Regions from separate parts of the Homo sapiens genome. Here region 1 is linked to region 2. The links are contacts of gene promoters, found by promoter capture Hi-C in blood cells and fetal thymus (Javierre and others, 2016). All regions are on one chromosome and are shown on one strand. The core of a region is centred on a gene start or on the middle of the fragment in contact, and the rest is flanking DNA. Distances in the headings are between cores, read along the strand shown.

Region 1 (7,469 bases), core at 4,230-6,729, 130 kb before region 2:
CCAGTGGATACAGCCCTGGGCGCTCTGCTGGCCCAAGGATGTCCCCACTGCCCCTCCATGGCCTCTGGCCTTCTTCCCATTCATATTTATTTATTTATTGACTTTTATGAAGTTTCCCCTTCCATCCGATCCCTACTGCCCATGTTGTCCTGACCATCCCTCCCAGCCATCCAGCTGTCTGTCTGTCTGCCACAAGGAAATAAAAATGGCAAGCAGCATAACCTGTGTGTCTATTGGGAGGGATGGCTGGAGGGGAAGATGGCTGGTGAGGGGTGAGTCCGGGACAGGGGCATTTAGCCCTCTCTGGGTATTCCCCAACACACACATTCAGGAATATACCAGCTAGCACTTTGGGTCCTTCCAACCCCCTCCCGTGACCCTCCTGGCCCCTCACCTCTCCTTATTCCTGGAGGGAGGGGAGACTGTGGTCTGCTTCTCCCCTTGCAGTTTCCGGAATGTTGGCAGATCCACTGAACCCCTGCAACCAGGCTCTAGTAGCCCCCACCTCTTGTCACGTGTTCCCTCATCACAATGTGGGGGATGCTGGGCTCTGAAATAGGCCAGCCCTCACCCCAATCCTGGCTCAGCCTTGTTCACTCTCCCCAGAAGACAGGCAGGAGCTCTGGTCCTGACCCCTGGAGCAGAGTGGGTTTCATCCTGATGGTTGGTGAGAGTAGGTAGTGTGAGGAGCTGCAGAAGAAACCAGGACAGGGAGGCTAAGGTGGCTGGATCACCTGAGGTCAGGAGTTCAAGACCAGCCTAGCCAACATGATGAAACCCCGTCTCTACTAAAAATACAAAAATTAGCCAGGCGTGGTGGTGCACACCTGTGATCTCAGCTACTCAGGAGGCTGAGGCAGGAGAATCGCTTAAACCTGGGAGGTGAAGGTTGCAATGAGCCAAGATTGCACCACTGCGCTCCAGCCTGGATGACAGAGTGAGACTCCATCTCAAAAAGAAACACTAGGACAGGCTCACACCCCTTGCCCTCCATGTCACAGCACATATCAGAGCACATGGAGAGCACCAGCTGGGAGTGCTCTAGTCTGCTGTGTCCAGCATTTTCCTAGGGCTGAGGGACACACCAGCCTGGACCTTCTTGTCCACATGGCAAGTTAGGAGGTCTGCTGGGTGCTAAAGCACCTCAATTCTAGCCACACCCGTGCCATAGAATGGTCACTGGGACCTAGGACTGAGCTGCTCTGCCCTGAGGTTGGGGACGAGGGATTGGGGGGTTGGCAGGGACCCAGACCTCCTTGTCTCCAGAGGAAATGTTTCCCTCATCCCCACCTTCAAAATTCTGTTCTTGGCAAAGTAAAAGGAACAAAGCCTCTGACCAGGGTAGACAGAGTTGTCACTGCTGTGTTGCTGATGGAGGTTGAGGGCCCCTTGGCTCCAGCCCAGACAACCCTTTTGCCCAGCCCAGCCCAGCCTCTCTAGCTTCTCAGGACCCCAGGGAAGAGGCAAGCCCCATCATCATAAAATAACAGGATGTTAAAGCCAGCTGGAAGGGACCAGAACGACACCTTGCCTACCTGTCATTTTAGCGATGAAGATATACAGTTTGCCTGTAAGAATCTCCAATCCCCTACACACTGCAAGTGTTTTGTATAAAAATGAGGTGCCTGAACTCATATCTTGATAAATGGTAAAATTCCTCTCCCGTCCCCGCTCTGATCTTGAGCTCCCTTCCCATCTCCATTGGAAATGGCATGTGAACTGCTTGTTCCAAACCCGGAGGAGCAAAGGTAATTTATGTCAGCAGAGCTATGTCAAAATTGCTCTGATCAAAACGTGACAGTGCCCCCACACTAGGGCGGGTAGTTCCAATGAATGGAAGCAATGCTTCTGCCCGGTGCCCGGCCTGGGCAGACTGGCCTCCAGGCAATCCCCAGAGGGGTTAACTGAACCCCTTCACCCCAGGTGGTCTGATGCCCCTATGCACCAATTTATGCCCCCAAAAAGGAATTGGGCAGACCTAGGGTTGGGGCCAGTAGTGGTGCTAATCTCCAAGGACAGTGCAGTCTAAACAGCCCCCACCATGTGACATCGAGGGGAGTGAGTGGGGATGGGGAAGGCATGGAGGGGCTGCTATTCTCAAAAATCTTTCCCGTCCCCTCCCGGTTTATCTCAGTTTACCGCCAGGGGGCACAGTGTGGAAGTGACAACCCTGGACTCCTGGGGTTGGGGGTAGGGGAAGAGTAAGGAGCTTCTGGATTGGTCTTGACAGCCACGTGGCCCTGTTGCCGTTAGCTGTAGGGGCCCTGAGGACCAAGTCCGATGCTACTCTGGCTGTATTCAGGGAAACCCCAGAAACACTCAAACCCCTTAACCAACAGGGTGTGTTGTCTGACTATCCAGAGCCCAACCTGATTGAAAAGCTGCCCCAGCAGGAAGCTGGATCTCTTGTCAGCTAGGGGCTGAATCTGGTCCTCCTGGGAGTGGGATGGATACCCCCTGCCCTGGGAGGGGACAGGGCAGCATCCAGCTGTCCAGCTGTCCAGGTGCTGACGCAAGGTGCACCTCAGAGCTGCTCGGGTTTCTCCCCACGGGCCTAGCCCAGCGGCTGAGCCAGCATCCCAGGCATCCACAGGCTAAATAAAGAGCCTGCCTGAGTCAGAGGGAGGCGGATGGGGCCCCGGGGGGCTTGGGGCAACCACGCCAAACAAGGCAAGGAGGGGAGCGATGTATAAAACCGGGCCCAGGGCTGAGCACCTGCCTGCACCCCTACTGTGCCATCCAGAAGGGCTCTGTGCTGCCTGCAATCCAGCCAGTCGACTCAAGTCCCTAGGTCAACCCCTCCACGGTGAGTCTGATCCTCAGAGAAGCCGCAGACACCCCCATTCCTCCATCTCCCTGAATGTTCTGACCAGGGAGGAAAAGGGCTGAAGGTGGGAGCCTCTGTCTCAACCTGGACCCCCATATTTGTCGCCCACTCCCCAGATGTCTAAAGCAGCTCCTGCCAAAAAGCCAGTGGCTGTGGCCCCAGCTCCTGGATGTACCCTGGACATCAATGACCCACAGGTCCAGAGTGCGGCCATTCGTATCCAGGCCTCTTACCGGGGCCACAGGTGAGAGGGAACCCCGGAGCCCTGTGGAGGAAGGGAGCTGCAGAGAGCGCACTCTTGAGTAGGGTTTGAGTAAGCGCTGAGCAGCGTCAGGAGCCTTTAGAATGAGTGGTCTCAGGGGAGGGTCGTTACTGAGGTATGGGGGAGTGGCCGGGAGGAATGCATCATCCTATCAGGGCAGCAGTTCAGGAGCAGTCCTCTTCCCTACCAAGCCACACGTTTAGGGGTCTGGCCGGTCCAGGGGGCAGGTAGGAGATGGTGCGCTCGCGGTAAGGGCTGTGGCCGGGCCTGTCTTAGGAACTCTGGGCCCTGACTCGGCCCGCGGGTAGGTCCCGGAAGGAGCTGCGCGAGAAGGGGCCGCCGCGGGTGCTGGAGCCGCTGAAGGACGTGGTGCTGATCGAAGGCAGCGCGGCCAAGCTCACTTGCCGCATTTCGGCTTTCCCGGACCCATTCATCCGCTGGAGTAAGGACGGCAAGGAGCTACGTGACGGTCCCAAGTACCGCTACGTCTTCGAGGACCCTGACGTGGTGGCACTGGTGGTGCGCGACGGCGAGCTGGCAGACCTGGGCCAGTACAGCATCAACGTCACCAACCCCTTCGGCCAGTGCTCCGACTCGGCGCGCATCCTCGTGGAAGGTACGCGCGCCCCGGGCGCAGCGCCAGGGCGCAGACCAGCACCACTCAGCCAGAGCCCGCAGCCCGGTCCAGCTGCGCGTGTTTACCTCTGGGCCTAGCTACAGGGTCCCCGCCAGCCCAGCTCTGGGCACGGCCTGGGGCGCATCGCCGCGCCAGCCAAGTGCGTCCTTCCCTACCTCGGGATCCAGCTCCACCCGGGCTGAGCAGTCAGCTGTGGACTTCCATCACGCGGCTCCGGGTCCCCAAGGTCACACAGCAAGCCAGAGGCAGAGCCAGGGTTGGACCCGGGTCTTCTGGCTCCCAACTCTGGCAATTTCCACTACCCGGAGCGGTCTCTGAGGCACCGCGAGATGTGTGAACATTCAGGGGCTTTCGCCCGCCTTATCTCTCTTGATCCTCTATTCGACCCCGAGAAGTAGGAGAGGCAGGGATAAGTCCCTTTAACAGCCAAGGAGATGAAACCAGAGAGGCTAATGATTTGCTCAACGTCACACTGCGAGTTTAAATGCATCTGTATTTAGTGCCGGGTATTAGCCGGTGAGGTGATGCCCTGCCTCATCTCCGGGTCCTTCACGGGGTTTCGCTCCCCTTTCCTTCCGCTAGTCCCGACGAAGATTCAAAAGGGACCCGACAACACTAAGGCGCGCAAAGGCACCACCGTGACGCTGACTGCGGAGATCCTGGGAGAGCCTGCGCCCGACGTAGGCTGGACCAAGGACGGGGAGGACATCGAGGAGGATGACAGGCGAGGGCCGGGACCTGCGGCACGGCCAGGGCCTGGGGCTGGAACCTGGGTGGGACTGAGCCCAGAAATCTGGCTGGAGTGACGGGGGCGGGGACTGGGCAGCGAGGAACAGAGCTGGCTAAGGAGCCCCGCCCAGTGCGCCCGTGTACTGACCACGGCTCCGCCCTCCTCCCCGCCGCCCTTCCGCAGGGTGTTCTTCGAGATCGGCAGCACCACCACGACGCTGACCATTCGCCGGGCCACGCCTCAGGACAGCGGCAAGTACGAGGTGTACGTGGAGAACAGCCTGGGCATGGACCAGAGCTTCGCTCGCGTCGACGTGGCCTGAACGGCACCCCCGGACCTTCCGCCCTGGCGCCGAGCCCGGGGGTGGTGGGACCCACAGCCCTCCACCAGCTTGCTTAATAAAGCTGCTCTCTGACCCTCCGCGTCTGTCCTGCTCTTCCGCGTCGCCATTCCCTCTCCCCCGCACCAGCGCCCACACGTATTCCAGACCCCCACGCCAAGGTCACAGCCTGTTGGAGTCACAGGGAGGTCTGGAGAGCGCCTAGCGCCGTGCTGCATTTCAGACAGTCAAACTGATAAGAGTTGCCCTCGCCGTCCAAGGCGCCCTCACTTCCCAGCGGTACCGCCGGCTGGGCCTGGGACTCCGCCTTCTCCGCTTTTGAGCGCCTCCAGCCCCAGCCCCTTGTGGCTGTTTGCCCCTGGCCCCGCCCCTTCCAGGGCTGGCCACACACCCCTGCTGTCCTTAGTCCCGTTTTCCTGTGGGACCCAGTTCCTCACTTCGGCTGCTGCCCCGAGGCCGATTCCCCAACAGCTCGGGTCCCAGTCTTAAGTTCCAGGCTGGGCTTCTCAGGCCCCACCCTTCTTCGCATTTAACCCCGCCCCGCGATCCCTTGGTCACACCCCTGGACTTCAGCACCTCTTTCCTCTCCCATAAAGTTAGAAAGCGGGTAAAGGGTCAGACTACAATTCCCGGCAGACCCTGCGAATGAGTTCTCGCGACTTGCGAGAAGACACGTGCGCGGAAGGAGCTTGCAGTAGCGGGCGGCAGAGCTGGAGTGAAGGGAGCTAGTGGTAAAGGGAGCTGGTGGAGGGGTGGCGGCAGGGGTAAGGGGCAGGGGACACCCTCTAGACGGAGAGCGGGCTCCGAGGTCCTGGCTGGCCCTCGGTGCGCCCGCCCCTGTGTTGGTCCCACAATCCCTGGCAATGAGAGGCCAGGGTTTATTGGACAGAGTCAGTTGTGGGGTTCAGAGGGTCAGCAATCAATCAATCCTCCGAATCCAGAGATTTAGACCCAGTCGTCCGTATTAGGACTGGAGGGGGGTCAATAGGTTCAGTGTTTGAGATGCCAAGGGAACCTGTCTTTTGATTTGGGGTTCAACATACAGAGGTTAGTTTTAGGATTCATGTTTAGCATATAGAGGATTTTTGCTGGGATTAGGGGTTCTTCAAATTCAGATCAGTGTTAGTTCAGTACTTGGGGATTACGTTCAGGATTTAAGTTAAATATCTGAGGCTCACTCAGGGTTTGCTGTCCAATATTCAGGGTTCACTATTGGGGTTCAGGGCTTAATATCTAGAATGAAGACGCAACACTTTGGGAATTTGAGGCTTCAGTATTTTGAGGTTTGGGTCTGAGAAGGGAGTCTCTGCCAGGTTTCTGAATTTGCAGAATTTGTTCATGGCCAGAGGGAAGTCTTTTAGAGATCAAATTGTGGGGTGTGAATTTCAGAATTTGGGAGGAATCACTGTGAGGTTTGAAGGCCGACTGGAATCTGGGTTGGGATTTGAGATGTGTGGGATTTGTGAGGTTCTGTCCAGGCAGGGACTATATTGAGCTTTGGGTTTACATCTTGGGGGAGGGCTAAGTGCTGCTATTTGGGGTTTGGGGTTTGGTTGGGGTGTGAGATCTGAGCTTGATTTCTCTGCTGGGATTTGAGATGTGTGGGATTTGTGAGGTGTTGGGTCCAGGCAGAGACTATATTGAGCTTTGGGTTTACATCTTGGGAGAGGGCTAAGTGTTGCTATTTGGGTTTTGGGGCTTGGTTGGGGTAGGAGATCTGAGCTTGATTTCTCTGTTGGAATTTGAAGTTTAGGTAGCAGTCACCATTATGCTCAAAGCGGTGATCCTGATTGGAGGCCCTCAAAAGGGTGAGGTGCCAGGGGAATGGGGGGAGGAGGTTGGGCTGGAGTGGTAGGCGGGATGGGGGCAGAGGAAGGCAGGAGGCCGAAATGTTCTCCTCTCTCCTCTCCCAGGAACTCGCTTCAGACCTTTGTCTTTTGAGGTGCCCAAACCATTGTTTCCTGTGGCAGGGGTCCCTATGATCCAACACCATATTGAAGCCTGTGCCCAGGTAACCTCAGGGGCTCCCCTCTCTCACCTCACTTCCTGCTTATCTTCATGCTGTTTCCCCCTTTCCCAACCATGAACTCTTCCCACCAGGCATAACTCCAAGGACCATCATTCACAGATGACAATGTGAATGGCGCCCCCTCAAGTTATGCTGTGCAGCTGCCCTGCTGTCTTCCCCTAATCTAGTTTCTCATCTGGCCTCTTCCTGCTCAGATTTCACTCCTATTTTTAAAGTGTGGAATGTGAGATCAGGCAAGGATCTTGGAGACAATGTAAAGCCGTAGCATGGAGACTCTTAATGATAACCAAGCACAAATTCATATCCTTGATCACATTGTTGCTCATTTCTTTATTGCTTTTCGTATTGAGCCAGGCAAGGTTTTGGTTTGAATTCAGTCTCTGCCTGCTGTGAGGTCTGCAACAAATAACACACCCTCTCTGACACTCAGTTTCCTTATGTGTAAAATGGGGGTGATTAGACCTACCTTGTTGGGTGGTGAAGCTTAGAAATGATATTTGTAAAATGCCTAGTACAACGCAGACCCTTGATAAATGGTACCCTTACCTCATGCTGATCTCAAGCTTAGGCTGACAGATAATAAAAATGGCCGGGGGGGAGGGGGCGGGGTGGAAATGGATTAATGCAGCTTGGTAGGCAAAGTC
Region 2 (6,682 bases), core at 4,164-6,663:
TACCCATTCGCCCCAAATAACAAAACTCGAAGCAGGTTACCTGCTTGGGTAGGGGCAGAAGAGGAGCATGCAAGGACATAGATCTGTATCTCAAAATTCTATGTTAGCCAAATACATCAGTAAAGACGGGAGCTGGAAGGTGGATTCTGCAGGGGTGGGAGAAACTTCAGGGACATTGGTGCTGTCCTGAGATTGGATTTATTTCAAAGTTGAGTCCAAATTTACCAAGCAACCCATGAATTATGATGGGATAAACCACCGCAGAGTAACAACGATAGTAAATAATAAGAATGTCATTTATTGAGCACCTATTTTGTGCCAAGCATTCAACTGGCATTTTACATATAGCATCTCTAACTCCAGAGTCTGAGCTCTTTCTCAATGCCATGTTATCTCTTGTGTAAAAATAAGATCTTACTCACCACCAGGCCAGTCAGCAGCAAATGGCACTGGGTGCTCTGCTGTGGGGAGTGGGGAGATACTTTTGGCAAGAGTCTAAGTGAAACTGGGGCTAGCTCAACCCATACCCTGCTCTATTCCAGAAACTCTCCAGCCTGCCAAGTTAGGTTTTCCAAGGCAAAGATTGGTCCATGACCAAAGAGTGTCACAATCTACCCTGGTGGGGATAAAAGTCATTCTGGATGTCCCCACCTTCTTAGAGTTTGCAATTGTCATATTTAATATGGCTCTTAGAATTATTGCTCTGGTAAGGACAAGCTTTTGCTTATTTTACGTGTGTACATTTCACCATTTTTTCACAGTGCAAGTTATTTGAGGACTTTTTGGTATTTTTGTCTCTTAGATTTGTAGTAGTATTGAAACTAGCTAACAGTGTTGAGCACTTACTATAGGCCAGTCACCCTTTTATACAAATGAACTCATTTCATCCTCTCAACAACCCTGTTATTATTGCCATTTTACAGATAGGCAATCTGAGACCCAGAGAGGGCAAATAACTTGATCAAAGTCACACAACTGTCAAGTGGCAGAACTGTGCTATGAACTCAGGCGGCTTGGCTCTAGAGGTCTCACATTTAACTATTCCCCTATACAGACGCTAGTCACAAAGATGCAGTCTCCTTGAAAAGTCGATCTGGGAAGTTAGTGGTCTATTTCAGTTTGTGCCCATGGCATGGAAGGTCTAACAGTTGTGGGAGGGCATCAAGACATGGTGGGGGAGGCTGGGCATGGTGGCTCATGCCTGTAATCACAGCACTCTGAGAGGTCGAAATGGGTGGATCACTTGAGGTCAGGAGCTCGAGACCAGCCTGGCCAACATGGTGAAACCCCATCTCTACTAAAATTGCAAAAATTATCTGGGTGTGGTGCCCGTCTATAGTCCCAGATACTTGGGAGGCTGAAGCAGGAGAATCGCTTGAGCCCGGGAGGCAGAGGTTGCAGTGAGCCAAGATTGTGCCATTGCACTCCAGCCTGGGTGACAGAGCGAGACTCTGTCTCAAAAAAAAAAAAAAAAAAAAAAAAGACATGGTGCGGGGAGGTACTGTGGTATGTGATATATGAGGATAAATATAGGACATAAAGCCAGAAGCCCTTGCATCTGCTTCTGGCCATGTTGCCTATGAGCCTTAGACCTTGGGCAAGCCAATTAAACTTACCAAGCCTCATTTTTCTCACTTGTCAAATGGGGTTAAGATGCTCTACCACAGAGGGTTGTTGTGAGGAACCAATGAGAATATGAATATTAAAGTGGCTTGTAAGCTGGAAAGCACTACCTGCATTTAAAATAATGAAGTTATCATTGTTGTTATCCTTAAGAGCACTGGATGGAGATGATGGCGAATGACACAGTAATCATAAGACAGGCAGGGGCTACCCAGGCCTGTTAACAGGAGGGCCATTCCCTCACATCCTCTCTGCCAGCTCCTTGATGTTGGCATCACTAATGTCTGGTGCCTGCTCATCCCATGACCTAGACTTAGAGCCCATTCCCCTGATTCTAGCAGTCAGGATGACTAGTTGGAAATAACAGCCACTTTAAGCTGGAAGGGAATTTACTAAAAAATAATGAGGATTAGAGGGTATTCTCGGGAGGAATAGAGAGCAAGGACTTAATGACCAGCTATAACATGAGAACTTCTCTGCCTTCCATGCCTGCAGAAGTCTGAGTCTCCTGTGCACAATGCTCACTTCTAAATTCAGGTCTTGCACAGGTGAGTCTGACTGGTGGAACCGAGGTCAGTATCTGTGCCCTGGCTGCAATGGTTTTCTGGCTTCTATCTTGGCAAGAGAAGACTTATGAGAAATGACCAAAATGTAAAAGTGGGTTTTCAAAGATCTGGGTGGCCACAGATGACAGATATCTGCCATACTGGTCTAGTTCCCAGCACGCTGGACCCGCAGAGTGATTTCAGGGAACAGAATCAGAGGAATCCACCCGAGGGCTTCTGGCCCATTCATGGGGAGCCCAGAGAACGGTGTGCTTTGCCTCCAAATCTGGGTGGTGTGGCGGGATGGCTCCTGCTCCTTCGGACCTAAGGGACAGGCTGTGGTGCTGCTGCATGTGCAGACAAGTGTCCTATGCTGCCAGCATGCAGGGTGGGGACATTCCTGTGAGACTGGACTGTGAGGAAGGGTGTGACAGTTGGCTACTGCTCTAAGCTGGCCTGTCGCTGGCTTCAGCCTTTGCTGTCACCTTTCCTGTCACCATTTCAGTGTCTACAGGCTGTAAGCTAGAAGCTGACACATACCCAGAGTGGCCATCCTTTGTGCATGCAAGGAGTGCTCTTTTGTCACAGAAATGAAGACCCCATCGGGAACACACTGTAGGGGACTGACAATTACAGGTGCGCCGCAGGCAGGATGTCAAAGACGAGAGCGGGCCTAATGAAAGCATGCGTTTATGTCTAATAGGATGAGTTGGTGGGTGTCAGCATCATCTTACTCCCCCCAGCCTGGAAAGAAAGAGATAAACATGGGTGTCTAAAGGCTCTTCAAGGGGAGATTTTACTCCATCATCTCAGAGGGGTGGAGGAGAGAGGAAGGTCTGTAAGGGTAGAGAACGAAGCCTCAGACTCTGGGTGGGGTGCGGGTCTCCAACTGAAAGAATGGGGGTCTGGGGCTACCAAAAGTTGAGGGCCTGTGCTCAGCATCCTCTCTGGGGTGGATGGAACCTCAGAGGGACAAGTCCTGTGACACCCTTATGGCATCTTGGTGTGCAGGATGTACATGGCCTGGTACACCAGGGGTCCCTGGTTGGCAAGACCCTTCTCAGGCTGTCTCAGTATTAAAGTAACTGCTGTCTGACTTTACAGACTAGAGGAGCGGGGCTGGGAACACAATGTCGAGGTGGATTGAAGACCAGAGCCCCTGTGCAATGCCGACCAGGAAAGGTTCCAAGGCTCTTGAGTGTCTCTAAGGACGTGAAGGCCCTACCAAAACAAAATTCAAGGTAGGGACTTGGAACCACATTGCCTGGCTCAGAGGAATAAAGAATTGGGATAGCTCTGGTTTGCTAGGGCTACTGTAACACAGTATCATAAACCCAGTGGCTTAAACAATGGAAATCTACTGTCTTACAGATCTGGAGGCTAGAAGCCAGACATCGAGGTGTCTGCAGGGCTAGGCTCTCTCTGAAGGGACTAGGGAAGGATCTGTTCCAGGCCTCTCTCCTAGCTTTGGTAGTTCCTTGGCTTGTGGCAGCATAACTCCAGTCTTCACAAAGCGTTCTCTGAATGCACGTCTCTTTGTCCAAATTTCCCCCATATATATATATACATATATTTTTTTTTTTTGAGATGGAGTCTTGCTCTGTCACCCAGGCTGGAGTGCACTGGCACGATCCCTGCTCACTGCAACCTCTGCCTCCTGGGTTCAAGCAATTCTCCTGCCTCAGCCTCCTGAGTAGCTGGGATTACAGGCGTGTGCCACCACGCCCAGCTAATTCTTAGTAGAGACAGGGTTTTACCATGTTGGCCAGGCTGGTCTCGAACTCCTGATCTCACGTGATCCACCCGCCTTGGCCTCCCAAAGTGCTGGGATTACAGGTGTGAGCCACCGCACCTGGCCAATTTCCCCTTTTCACTGGAACACCAGTCATAATGGATGAGTCCACCCTTATCTTAACATCTGCAAGAACGTTATTGCCAAATAAGGGCACACTCTGATGTACCAGGGGTTAGGACTTCAACGTATAAATTTTGGGGGACACTACTCAACTCCCAACAGCTGGGTCTCCCATTCTGAGTTTTGGGGCACAGCTGTGCTCTGCCTAGGCATAGCTGATTCCCACCCTAGGAATTCCCACCTTGGGACTCACCATGTGAGACTTAGGAGGACAGTTCATCTCTTTCAGTTAAAAATTTTGTTTGTGGCTTGGAGAGTCACTTCAATACATGGATAATGATGCCCAAACCTGTCGGCAGCCTGCTTTCCAGCTGTGACCATGGCAGGTAACGAGCCTCCCTGAGTCTCCACTGTCCTCTGCCGACCAAATGGGAATCATAACAGCTCCTCTTATTATTATGCCTGAGACGAGGCAGCCAGTCTGGAGAGGGCCAACCTAGCACAGGACTGTGAGCACACACAAGACAATGTGGGCGTCCAACAGATCCTAGCTCCCTTCCCCTTGGAAGGCTATGCACACAGAAAATCTTTCCTTGGGTTGAGCTGAGATCTAGATGAGGCCAGGGGTCAGACGCGGTGAAGTACCAAGGTCACAGGGCTGTTATGGCATCGCACTGTGTAGAAGTCCAGTTTCATTGATCTCGGGATAGGGGCCGATTGGGGTCCAGTGGCTCCTTCGAAAGACCTTTTGCCCTTGGAAAATGAGATGTGACCTCAGGGATAGGGGGAGAAGGGAGAGGAAATGTGGAAACGGAGCCACACAGTCTTAGAGTTGCATAGAACTTTGGAACACCCCTATTGCAGGCCCCTCTCGCTACAGCTGGGGAAGCTGAGGCGGGAGGAGGGGAGGTACTGTGTCAAGGTCAAACGTTGGGTGGTGCCAGGCGACAGAAGCCAGGCCTTTGAGAGGCAAGGCTGTGGTAGAAATGAAAGGGGAGGTGGTGGGTGCTTCCAGGGGTCTGTGAGCTCCGTTCCCAAGACTGGAGGGGCCTGTGTCTGCGGAGGGGGTGGCTTCCTGGGCTCTGGAGGGGAGGGGAGGCTAAAAGCAGGGTTGGGGAGCGAATCTGGGGGATTGTGGGAATATCGGGCCGCGCCCCAGCCCCCAGCGATGCGTGGGGCGCCTGGAGAAGGGGCGCACGGGCAGGTGGGGTGCTGCGGGGCCCGCGCGTGGGGGCCGCGCCGGCCGGGGCGGGGTGAGTCACGGCCCGCCCGCTCCCATTGTGCGGCCCGGCGGCGGCGGCGGCGGCGGCGGCGGCGGCGGAGGTGCGGAGCGGAGCGCGAGGAGGTGGAGCCGCGGGCTGCGGGCTCCGGCGCCTGCGTCCGCCCGGCCAGCCCGGCTCTGCGCTGCGAGAGGCCGGACGGCAGTCGCGGCTGCGCTCGGGAGAGAGCGCGGGGGACATGGGGCGCGGCGGCCCGCCTGGGCCTCGCAGGCTCCGGAGCCCCGAGGTACCGCGGGGCGGGGCACGCCGGGCAGGGCGGGGGACCCGGGCTGTCCCGGGCGTGGCTGGGCCTCGGAGGGGCGCTTGGGCCGGGAGCGTGCATCCGGCTCCCGGGTGGGGGGCGCCAGCGCAAGGAACCTGACCCCGCCCTCCTCCCCCAGGGCTCCCCGCTAGGCCCCCTCAGTGGCCCCTCCTTCTCACCTGGGTCTCGGGTCCCCTAGTGAGCGAGAGCGTCCCCAGCCGCCTACCTGGCCATGGCCAACGGAGTGATCCCGCCGCCCGGGGGCGCCTCCCCCCTACCCCAGGTGATCGGCGCGCGCGGGGGCGGGGGAGAGATGGGGGAGGAGAGGGGAGGGACCTTAGGGTGGGCAGAGGAGTCCTCTGGCCGACCCCGGGACCCCCCAGATCCAGGGATGAGCTGGGCTGGGGGTTACGGAGAAAGAGGGGGGTTTTTGATATTTTCCAGATCCGTAGCCCTCTCTCTTTACAAGCTCTGGGAGCCCAGAGAGGGTGGTTTCTGGGATGCTGACACAGGCCTGGGAGCAAGGGGAGGGGGCCCGATGGTGTGAGAGCCTGCTGAGCTCCCCCAACTAGGGCTTGGAGTTGGGGTGGGTGTGGGGCCTTCATGGGTCAGGGGTCCTTAGCAGAGGCCGTCTGGGCCTGCAGGTCCGGGTGCCCTTGGAGGAGCCCCCTCTAAGTCCAGACGTGGAGGAGGAGGACGATGACTTGGGCAAGACCTTGGCTGTGAGCAGGTTTGGGGACCTCATCAGCAAGCCCCCGGCCTGGGACCCCGAGAAGCCCAGCCGCAGCTACAGCGAGCGGGACTTTGAGTGTGGGTAGCCTGGGGACCCCTAGTGCGGCCGCCCTCGCCACCATCACCTTCATCGCCACCATCACCGCGCTCACCTCCGGCTTGGTCACCCAGTGCCATCCTGTGCCGGACACTGTGCTGGACTCTGTGCTGGGCCACATGCCGTGTTCAGTCATCCTGCCTCCCCCACCCATCGCCTGTCCGCCTGCCTGGGGAGGTGGGCCCCAGACCAGGGGAGATCTAGGGAGCTGGGCCTGGGCCCTTCCACGGTGACCTTCCCCTTCCCCTTCGTCCCCACTCACTCCCTCCTTGTCCCACCTCGGCTAGTCCAACTCCGCCTTTCCCCTCC

Evidence for each region. The method cuts DNA at HindIII sites, captures the fragments that hold promoters and counts their contacts. A CHiCAGO score of 5 or more calls a contact.
Region 1: a contact is called between the fragment with the promoter of GMPPA here and the fragment with the promoter of SLC4A3 in region 2, in 2 of 17 cell types (M0 macrophages and M2 macrophages). The highest score is 5.9, in M0 macrophages.

What each region holds. Positions count from the first base shown.
Region 1 is chr2:219,493,412-219,500,880 of GRCh38, forward strand. It overlaps GMPPA (GDP-mannose pyrophosphorylase A), which reads left to right and starts at 5,480. Exons shown (of 13, transcript NM_013335.4): 1 at 5,480-5,527; 2 at 6,545-6,604; 3 at 6,710-6,807. The coding sequence starts at 6,565. It overlaps SPEGNB (SPEG neighbor), which reads left to right and starts at 2,720. Exons shown (of 5, transcript NM_001286811.2): 1 at 2,720-2,806; 2 at 2,944-3,071; 3 at 3,398-3,705; 4 at 4,309-4,450; 5 at 4,640-4,876. The coding sequence starts at 2,944. The coding sequence ends at 4,778. All of the region lies in intron 1 of ASIC4-AS1 (ASIC4 antisense RNA 1), which reads right to left. SPEG (striated muscle enriched protein kinase) reads left to right here. Exons shown (of 41, transcript NM_005876.5): 41 at 1-218. RefSeq lists silencers at 2,025-2,205, 4,450-4,529 and enhancers at 2,056-2,350, 2,084-2,901, 3,720-4,537, 4,538-5,355, 5,360-5,549 and 1 more. The HindIII fragment of the contact is 29,233 bases long and covers 1-7,306 here.
Region 2 is chr2:219,622,217-219,628,898 of GRCh38, forward strand. It overlaps SLC4A3 (solute carrier family 4 member 3), which reads left to right and starts at 5,414. Exons shown (of 23, transcript NM_005070.4): 1 at 5,414-5,529; 2 at 5,684-5,827; 3 at 6,189-6,354. The coding sequence starts at 5,777. It overlaps LOC124908064 (a long non-coding RNA gene), which reads right to left and starts at 5,794. Exons shown (of 2, transcript XR_007088701.1): 1 at 5,724-5,794. RefSeq lists enhancers at 5,917-6,619, 6,620-6,682. The HindIII fragment of the contact is 16,254 bases long and covers 716-6,682 here.